Linked DNA regions of Homo sapiens: region 1 is linked to region 2. Evidence: promoter capture Hi-C in human tissues and cell types (Jung and others, 2019). All regions are on one chromosome and are shown on one strand. Each heading gives the region's core, a stretch centred on a gene start or on the middle of the fragment in contact. The rest is flanking DNA. Distances are from core to core; before and after follow the strand shown.

Region 1 (4,676 bases), core at 1,789-4,288, 540 kb after region 2:
ACACTCATACTGGGCGACAAGCATGGGAATGGCAGGTTCCGCTGCTTCACTAAGACGACTCAGGTTGCCTGTGGAGTAACGTGGCTCTTGGGAGTGATAAAAGTTGTTTCTTTGAACCAAAGCTAGACATTCTTAGGGAATGTACAATGTTTTATAGCAATGTCTCCCAAATTTATAAAGACAATGATGTCTTTATGTGTCATACCTTCTAGGATATTTTTACCTGCTGTTCTGAAATGATTCAGGCAACCAAGATGATATCCTGGCCCTATTATGTACTAGTTGTGTGGTCTTGGACGTGTTTCTAGAAATACACAAGTCTTATTTTCTTCCAGTAAAAGAAAGAAAAACACTGGTATAGAGAGGGATACTAAGATCCAGGAGGTCACTTTTAGTGGCTAATAGCTCTGTGTTTAGATTTAGACAAGCATAGGTTTGAATCCTGACTCAATAGGATGATCTTAGACAATGAACTAGATTTTTTTTTCAGCTTGTTTCCACATTTTTGGAACAGTGGTTGTATCTATCTGAAAGTTATACAAATTAAAAAAACAAGAATGCATATAAAATACTTAGCAATGTGCCAGGCACTTATTAAGTCACTGAATAAATGTTTGTTGTTTATTAGATTACTATCACCACCATTCTCCTATTCTTACTTAGTATTAAGACTCACTGTAAATACTTTAGAGTTTAGCTCAGGAAAATTCTTTCTAGGGACAAAATTATTTTATTAAGTAGTCTCCTGGTATTTTGGGCTTTATTGCTAAAATTGAATAATTTAAACTGTTGCGAATAGCACAAAAAAGGGAGAAGTCATATGGAAAGAAGAGAACTAAGGATGGAAGTAAAACACAATAGTTGCATATGAAATGTTAGGGAGAGAAGAAGAGCAGAGAGGAAGCAAGCACTTCTCAAAGTGAACATACAACTAAGAACAAGAATCAGAATCCCCCAGATACAGAAATAAAGTCAACGTTCAATTTCAGTGTTAGCCAGGGGCTCTTGTTGTTGTTTACTTGTTTTAGGGAAAAATACTTCGAGTCTTTCTCTTGAGTCGTAAAGATTGGTGAAAAAATAATTGCAGGTTTGCTATTACTTTTCATTGCAAAAACCACAATACTTTGCATTAAATTAATAAATTCCTTGTAGTTGGTGCATTGCTCAATGTTAAGAACAAAAGCAGAACATTACACAAAGCAGTAAAAATGAATCCATGTCAGAGCAATTGGTGAAGGTCATGGGATTGAAGTTCTAATCTGAAGGGCCTCAGGTGACATAACAGGAAAATGATCTCAGAAATCTAGGAGGAAGGTGTACCAGGGAACCCAGGAAGTTAAGCTCACAAGTAGAATAAGATATGGTCAGAGTCAGCAAACACTAGAAGTCAGAGTGAATTTAAAAATCTCAGGTTGCTTTATTATCAACTCTTCTTTTGACCTCTCATTTCAGAATCGTAGCCTGAAAATGTTATGCTAACATAAAGAGGTGAAATTGATGGACTGTAAAGAGAACTGTGGGCTGGCCATGCCACCATAATTTTCTCTTGCTGTCATTTTTTCCCCTGAATTAAGTGATTCTGACCTTGAACAAATTGCTTAGCCCCTTTGAATATAAGTATCTTTACCTATAAAACTGAGGATATTATACTTCCCATAGAGGTTTCTGTGAGATTTAAGTGAAAGGATATATTTTACACACTTCACTCAGGATCTGTGTACAGGTTATAAACTCAATAAATCAATATTTACCCTTAAGTAAAACAAGCAAACAAAAAGTTTGATACAGCCAAATTGGGGCACAGACTTAGAGGTCTATTTCTTTAGGTATGTAATGTCTGTGCATTGCCACTACTACGCCAACTCTTCCTCCATTCATGTGAGTTTTTGAGTGGTGCTGAATGGTACCATACACTGTAATAACAGCCAAGTTAATAACCAGTTAATCAAATGGCACATGTTTATTGAACATAAACTATGAGCTGGCACAAGTAAGGAGCTGTGCCCACAAAGAATAACCAGGCTAAATCCTTGTTCTCAAGTGCTGAAAATACAATGACAATAAGCAACTAAAATCACACACAGAAACACACACAATGTGAGAATTTTTTCATTATAGTGGCTTTTGGCATGCAAAAGGCAGAGTCATTATTTAAGCTTTTTCTTCACAGATAATTGTGTTCTGTCTGTTGATATCATTAAAACTTAGGGCCTTTCTGCACTGGGAAAGAGTGCCAGTTACTGGAAGAAACTTTTTGTTTGAATTTTATAAGCATTTTATATCCCCAGTCAGTTTTAGTTTCCAAGTGTCATAAAGTAACATTTATCAAAAGCTTAAATGTCATTTCCTGTCATTTTAAAGGAAGAAAAATTTTGTCTTAAGCACATTATCTAACTATAATGAAAGTCTTAAAATATCAGCAAACGACTGAAAATAATTTTATGATGTAATAGCTACTGCACGAAAAAGATGGATATATCTACTCATAGTTTCAAGTCTTCAATAGATGTGTTTGTAAATTGTATAGTTATAGTTAATTAGCTACCATATATTTAAAAGGCTACCCCAAAGCTCTTGTTAAATCGTGCTTTTGTAGCATTAATTATGATTCAATGGGACTTTCAACAAAATTAAATTCTGAATGAATCAAGAGAGAATTGTTCCTTAGAACATTAGAGTTAGTCCCACCAATGATCAAAAGATGTGATATTATTGTTATTATTTCCTGTAGATTAATTTCCTTTTTTCCCCAAATATAATTAGCAAGTAACTGATATTCTTGGTAAACAACTCAAGAACCAGAGTCCTAGGGAACTCCAGTTTCTTAGAGACATCTGTCTCTATTAATATTTTCCAAAAGTCCAACAATATCAGGCATCATCAGGAGGGAAGAGGCACATCAAACAGAAATACAATTTTTCAGTTGTATGAAATAACAGTATTCAAATGGAAAAGGGCCTTGGCTTTTCTCCTTGATAGTTATATAATTCTGTGAAGGTCAATTTGTTTCTGAGATGATTTCTGCAGCTTTCCATTTCTGCTTTTATAAAAAGGAGATAATTATATGCACAGGCATTTTTGTGTGAATCCATATACATATCTCGAAATGGTAGTGGTGATCTCATGAGTTGATCTTGCATCCATCTCCATGGCTATGTCCATATGTCATCTCCACTGTTGTTGCTGTAATTCCACCACCAAACTTAGAGTTTGATATGGTTTGGCTCTGTGTCCTCACCCAAATCTCATGTTGAATTGCAATCCCCACATGTTGGGAGAGGAGCCTGGTGGGAAGTGATTGAATCATGGGGAGGACCTCCCCTTTGCTGTTCTGGTAATAGTGAGTTCTCATGAGGTTTGGTTGTTTGAAAGTGTGTGGCACATATCCTATGTCCTCCTTCTGTCACCATGAGAAAATATGCTTTTCTTCCCCTTTGCCTTCCACCATAATTGTAAGTTTCCTGAGACCTCCCCAGCCATGTGGAAGTGTGAATTGATTTTTTCTTCATAAAGTACTCAGTCTCAGGTCGTTCTTTATAGCAGTGTAAAAACAAACTAATACAGAGTTGACCTGGTTCTCCTTAGGCTTGATTTATTCTGTTTGCTGGATATGCTAGTCTTAATGAGAATGCCTAGATTCTAATATGGCCAATTATTCATAAGTCCACTAAATACCTCCAGAAGTGTGAGATAATCTACCACGTAAATATGTCCAGTGAAGTTTTCCAAACCTCTCTAATTTCCTACTGGGGGTGTGCTGATGAGGCTAACCCTGGGCCATATGTAGATGTCTTATAACTGCACTTCTAAAAGGAAATAACAGAGCTAGAAAAGCCCAGCGAAGAGATCAACTGAACTAGTGGCTCTAAAATATTTGTGTGTTCTAGAATCAGCAGGGAAGCTTACTATCACGTAGATTCCTGGAGTGCTATCAGATAGTCTGATTCAGTAGGGAGTAGCAAAGGAATCTGAAATTTTCACAAATATCTGAGACACTCTGAGATGTGGGAAGGATTAACCAATGATGGTAAAATAATTTGAGACAGGCAACTACATGAAGCAATAACTTTTTAAAGGCGGAAATATTCCTTTGCATTCTACCAATGTACATTGACTAATGGCAGAGCAGTGGAGATGGGGAGGCAGCCATATTTAAAAACTTCACATCACACTAGATAGCTCTTAGTGATACTAAGGTGATAAGGTTTGGCACTGTGTCCCCACCCAAGTCTCACCTTGAGTTGTAATAATTCCCAAATGTTGTAGAAGGGGCCCGGCGGGAGGTAACTGAATCACGGGGGTGGGCTTTTTCCCATGCTGTCCTCATGGGAGTGAATAAGTCTCACGAGATCTGATGGTTTTATAAAAGGGAGTTGCCCTGCATACGCTGTCTTGCCTGCCACCATGTAAGACATGCCTTTACTCTTCTTTCACCTTCCACCATGTTTGTGAGGCCTCTCTAGTCATGTGGAACTGTGAGTCCATTAAACCTCTTTCCTTTATAAATTACTCATTCTTGAGTATGTCTTTATTAGGCAGCATGACAATGGACTAATACATATGGTTTTCATCAAGCTTTAGAAAAAATTAAAAATTAATAAAAATATTGGTCTTAAGCCTCCTCCATTATACATTTTCTTCCCTGGTCCTATTTTATCTCATCTACCTTTCTCTTT
Region 2 (5,152 bases), core at 1,221-3,720:
AAGAGCGTTGTTAAATTTCCCCATAGATTGCAGCGGACAAAGAAAGATTCAGCCTAAAGATTAGGAAACAGTCTTGACAGCTAAGAAGCCTGATTTCTGTACAGGCAACGTTTCCACTTCGCAGTCTCTTTCCAAAGGTTAAAGGGTAATGTAAAAAACAAACAAACAAGTAAAAAAAGCTAGGTGCACGTCTCTATTTAGGAAGGAGGAGATGTTTTTGGTTTTCTCATCTTATTTCGTGCTGCTCTTCCTGCCTCCAGTAAGTTGCTGTCATGTTGTAACAAGTCCGGTGAGGCTGAATCTGAACAGAAGAGGGAGAACGAGCCCGCGCCAAGAGCTACGCCGAGACGCGCCGTCGGTGGGGCCACGCGAGATGCAACCGGAGAGTTTAAAACTAGCCCAGGACCAACCCCCCAGGGATCCGCTCAACTCTCCCCGCAGAAGAGTTTAAGTGGGGCAGTGGCCGCCACAGGCTGAGGATGATTTCCGGACGCGCCCCAGGCGCGACCGCACTACTCGTCCTCAGTTCAAAGCCTGAGTGACTTGGCACCACTTCCCCAATTGTTTTTTATTTCCTTCGCATCCCTGTTGTGTCTACCGCTTTCACGTATTTGAGAGCCTAAATCATGTTAAGACGACTTGGAGAAACGCCCGATTTGCCTCCCAAGCCACGCAAGGATCCACCCAGACGCACGCCCGCGCGGAGACGCACGCTGGCACACGCGCTCACACACGCGAGCACACACACGCGCACACTACCCGGTTCGTGCGCGCGGGTCGCTGTTCCTGTTGCATTATGCAAAGGTGGCTGGGAAAGCGCGTTGACTTACATTTACATAGCCCATCTTCTCCCCACAGTATGTGACTAATACGTATCCCGGGGAGGAGGGAGCGCGGCTGGGGGTGCTAATCGGAAGGGAACAGACAGTGAGTGCCATCTTGCTGGGAGGTTCCAGAAGCAAAGCGCCAACGACGACAGTAGCGGTGGCCTCAGCTCCACCAGTAACTGCCGCTGGCAGGAGCACCACACGCTCTAGGAGTTTCCCGGGTATCAAGTATGGGTCCAGCCCGTCCCAGTTATCCTCTTCCCCTATGGCTTCATTCCCGTTGTCAGTACCCCGACCTCAGCTTGCAACCTTGATCTTGGGCTTGATTATAAATGACGAAAGACCGCGGCAGCCTTCAAAGTGCGGGAGCGAGCCCCGTACTGGTCAGCGCGGCGGAGGGATCTTTCCAGGAGGCCCCAAGCCCCCAAGCCTGTGGAGAGACTTGGTAACAGCTGGCAAGGCCTGCTCCAGCCACCCTCGCTGGCTCCTTGCCCCTGCATTCAGCGCCTGAGGGCGTTATTCGCCCTCTCCCTGCGTCCCACGCAAGCGGCTCAAGGAACTCACTCGATCCGGATTCCGCCTCGTATGCTCTCCAAGCCTTCGCCACCTCCGCAGGCGCTCTAGAAAGGCGTGATGGCCCCAGCTCAGTGCCCGCCAGCCCGAAGAGGACAAGCAGGGCTGGAAGGGACTTGGTTTTGGAAAAAGCCCCACCCGCCCCCACCAACTGGAAGGAAAAGGAATTAGTATCCACCGCATCTGTTTAACTGCTAATAGATCCCAGATTACGGGCAGGTAGTAGGTTGGTGTCTTTAGATACAACAGCCTGATAATAACGCTGGTGACATTAACAACAGCTTGTGGAGGGGAGAGGGTTGTTACTGGTGAAAGTTAAGAGATTCAATCTAGGGAAGTAGGAGACTGAACTCTGACAAGGTTAGGGGCACTGAGAACCCCAATTTAGCATCGATGCATCTACCAGGCAAGAAAATTTGCGTTTTGACCCAGAACTCAGTCATGATGCTCCGTAGAGGAGGTGGATTCGACCAGCAGACAGATGTCCCCAAAGTCGAGAGAGAGCTAAGCTGCCTATTTTCTCTCCAGGTGAAAGACAAAGCCTAGAGCACCCCACTTAAGATGACCACCCCCAGCTCTTTCAAAAAAAAAAAATCCCCCGAAGAGACAGCGTGGTGCCAGCGTAGCAGCAGCTCGGCCGGTTACTGGAAACTTCACCTGGCAACGCAGCCCCTTTTACCTGACGGCTGCGTCTTCTCCTTGCAATGGGCTCATCCGAATCCGACAGGGTCAGGGAGGTGGAAAGGGAAGACGCTGGCGCGGCAGCAGCGGGGATCCCGGGGCATGGTATTGTTTTAGGGGTCGCCGCCGAGGTCCCTCCTGCCCATCGTTGAGAACTGCCACCCTGATCCCAGGGCTCGGTGGACACGGCGGCGGGAGCGGAGATGCCGCCTCGCCGCTGCTGGGCACCAGGGACGGAGGACCAGAGGCGCACCTCGGAAAGGAGTAGCTCAGCGCCTTGGCGCGGAGATTTGCGGGCACTGATGATATCTCGAGCGCTCGTTCCTCCGCGGTGACAATGGATAATGCCAAACGCGCAAGTGACGGCGACAGGTTTCGAACGTACAACTAACTACAAGGTACCCAGCCTGAGACAGTATGCTGCTTTTCCCCTCCTCCTCCTCTCCCTCCTACCAGGGAGGGAACTAACTTAACCCTGTGTGCGCCTGACACTCCCTAGAGAAGCTGGGATCGACTAGGAAACCGCAGGCAGCGGCTCCCGGGGGCGAGAGCTTTGTTCACGTGCGTTTCCAGTGGGTGTGTTGCTGTCTAGGGGCACTCGCGTGGCAAGACGCCCGTGGCTGGCTTCCAGCGCCCAAGATTCAAGGAAGGGAAGGAGCCCTAGCGTTTCATCCGGACCAGACCCAGCCCTCGGAGTCTATTTTTTGCCTCCAGTTACCGGATTTATTGAAGTTGCCAGCGAAGTTGGTTTTATTCCTTTACTTCTCTGCTCTCCGCCCCCGTCCACATCCCCCAACCCTGTATTATTTCCTGTCCTAGCTGCGCTTTAAAGATTCGGAACTTTTCACTCGTTCTAGCTACAGATTTTAACTGTGTTCCGTGTGCGAGACGAATTGTGGAGGGCACCCACCCACCCATGCCAAGTGTAAATGAAACCGCAAGAAAAGCTGCCTCCCACTCACCCATCCAGTGTCCGAGTAAGCCTAATGACACACATTCACATAACTAAGAAGACACGGGAAGATAGGGGTGCGGAGGACGGAGTTTGATGTGTGAATGGGAAATGGAGAGAGGGGACAGCGCGCGCGAGAGAAACAGCGCGAGCCTGAGCCTTAGAATGGAATAAACGGGAAACACACACAAGAATGACGATGCAAAAAATGTATCTAAGTCCCAACATTGACAGCAGAGGGTCAGCTTTAAGCGCCTACATTTTGATCCGCGAAATTTCCCAGCTTTTTTGGAGGCGGTTACATAGAGAACACAGGAGCCTCTGCCTTGGCCGCCCAGATGCTTTGCATTTTGTAAACAGCTTTGACTAAGTGCTCTGGACTTCCAAGAAGTTAACTGGAGTGGAAGGCGAGTCATATTGTGGATGCGGAATGGAAGCTTAGACAAGAAAAAACTGTCAGCAGAGCGCCTCTGCTCTCACCGTCACACCCAAATGAGCCAGGACGTCGCTCAGAGCGCAAACTGAGATCCACACAGGGACATCTTCAACCGAATCTTTCTTCTGTCTCCATTCCGGACTAAGGAAAGAAAGAAAGAAATACGGAGCCTTTATAGAGTATTCAGAGGCTACACACATGGATCTTGCTGAAACGGAGTTATTTAAAAACAGAGAAAGTGTGTTTTCCCATGAGATAGATGTTATAGTTTCTCTCTGAAACATACCCAAGTCTATGGGTGTCAATAATAGCCATTTCAAATGCCTCTCTGAGCCTTGCCAGCCCCAGAAGAGGCTGTGGGAATGCTGCTTCCAGCTTCCCCTGTGCAGAACTCCGTTGTAAATCCTTCTGAGTTTCCAAGGTGGCAGCAGAGCATAGGGATAGCTCCTCAAGCTCCAGCATCAACAAGGAAGATCACATTTTAGGACAAATACTCATCTACCTGCATTTAAACATCCATTTTCGTATGTAAGTGTACATAAGTATCCGCAGGAGGTTCTTCCTTTGAAATCTTGATCCAGGAAAGCAGCATAATTATTTCATCTTTAAGAACACATTTTAAAAAGGCAAAGCAGGATCTTTAAAGCAACAAAGGTTTTGCTTTCTGATTTATGCTGCTAGAAAATGAATGAGATTGAAAATGGGGGAGGGGGTGGTTGCAGATTTACAGAATTCATACTTTAAATTATTGGTGTTTCTAAACCATGAGCAAACCATGTTATGAGTATGTGCCACCTATTAAAAGCTATTGGTTGCATCTATTGTAATCACGACAAGGAAAATTAAGTAAGAAAAAATATCACGCCAAAGTACAAGCAGAATCGTTGTAACAAATTTCTTATGCACATGACCTATGAGTCAGCTTTAGAAATGTGTGATGATGGGGCCAGAGGAAGCAAACGAATAGGAAATGTGGCTCAGGGACTCCAAAGAGCAATAATTTTGCAGACTTAGAAAACTATAACAATTAGGTTACTTTATTTTTATTAGGAAACTCACTGATCCATAAGAGAAGTGGGTGAAAGAAAAACAAAAAGCAAATCTGCAAGCTTCAAAAAACAGAGGGTCAGCCCACTATTCTTAAGACTTCAGTCCTCAATAGTTTTCCTTTCAATTGAAATTGATTGTCATCTCAAACACTTTAATCCCCCACCCGCGTGTTTCTTACATCATTCCCCATCTATACACACATAGGTACCTTGGCCTTTCTTTTCTAATACTTTGTGAAAGTAAAAATAACACAGTATAATAAGATCATGATTTGAGCTCAGTTTTGATCTTGGGTAAATTCAACTCTGAGGTGCCTCTTCATTTTTAAAATGGACATTAAAAAAATCCCTGTTCTGCCAGCCTTATAACATTGTCCCACCATGAGTCAGCATATGTGAAAGTGCTTTAGAAATTTGACTTGTTGTTACTACTACTGATATTATCATTACATCACACCGTATCAGCCTTCAAAATATTGACAAATTATATTAGTGTAAACATTGTCAGTCTCCCCTGATGTTATCATCTTATATTACCTTAGAACATTTATCAAAACTAAGAAACCAGCTACATTGCTATTAACTAAACCTTAAACTTTACTCATATTTCATCAGTTTTTCCACTAAGTCTTTT

The links. The method cuts DNA at HindIII sites, captures the fragments that hold promoters and counts their contacts. A contact is called where the count stands out against the background at its distance.
Region 1: a contact is called between a fragment that was not itself captured here and the fragment with the promoter of FLRT2 in region 2, in 4 of the 25 tissues and cell types used here (H1 embryonic stem cells, heart left ventricle, hippocampus and 1 more).

The regions. Positions count from the first base shown.
Region 1 is chr14:84,983,860-84,988,535 of GRCh38, reverse strand. No RefSeq gene overlaps it. Among named protein-coding and RNA genes, the nearest start is that of SNORD3P3, 290 kb to the left of the region's middle. The HindIII fragment of the contact is 3,980 bases long and covers 1,049-4,676 here.
Region 2 is chr14:85,527,462-85,532,613 of GRCh38, reverse strand. It overlaps FLRT2 (fibronectin leucine rich transmembrane protein 2), which reads right to left and starts at 2,470. Exons shown (of 2, transcript NM_013231.6): 1 at 2,080-2,470. FLRT2-AS1 (FLRT2 antisense RNA 1) reads left to right here and starts at 955. Exons shown (of 2, transcript NR_184170.1): 1 at 955-3,997. The HindIII fragment of the contact is 3,489 bases long and covers 536-4,024 here.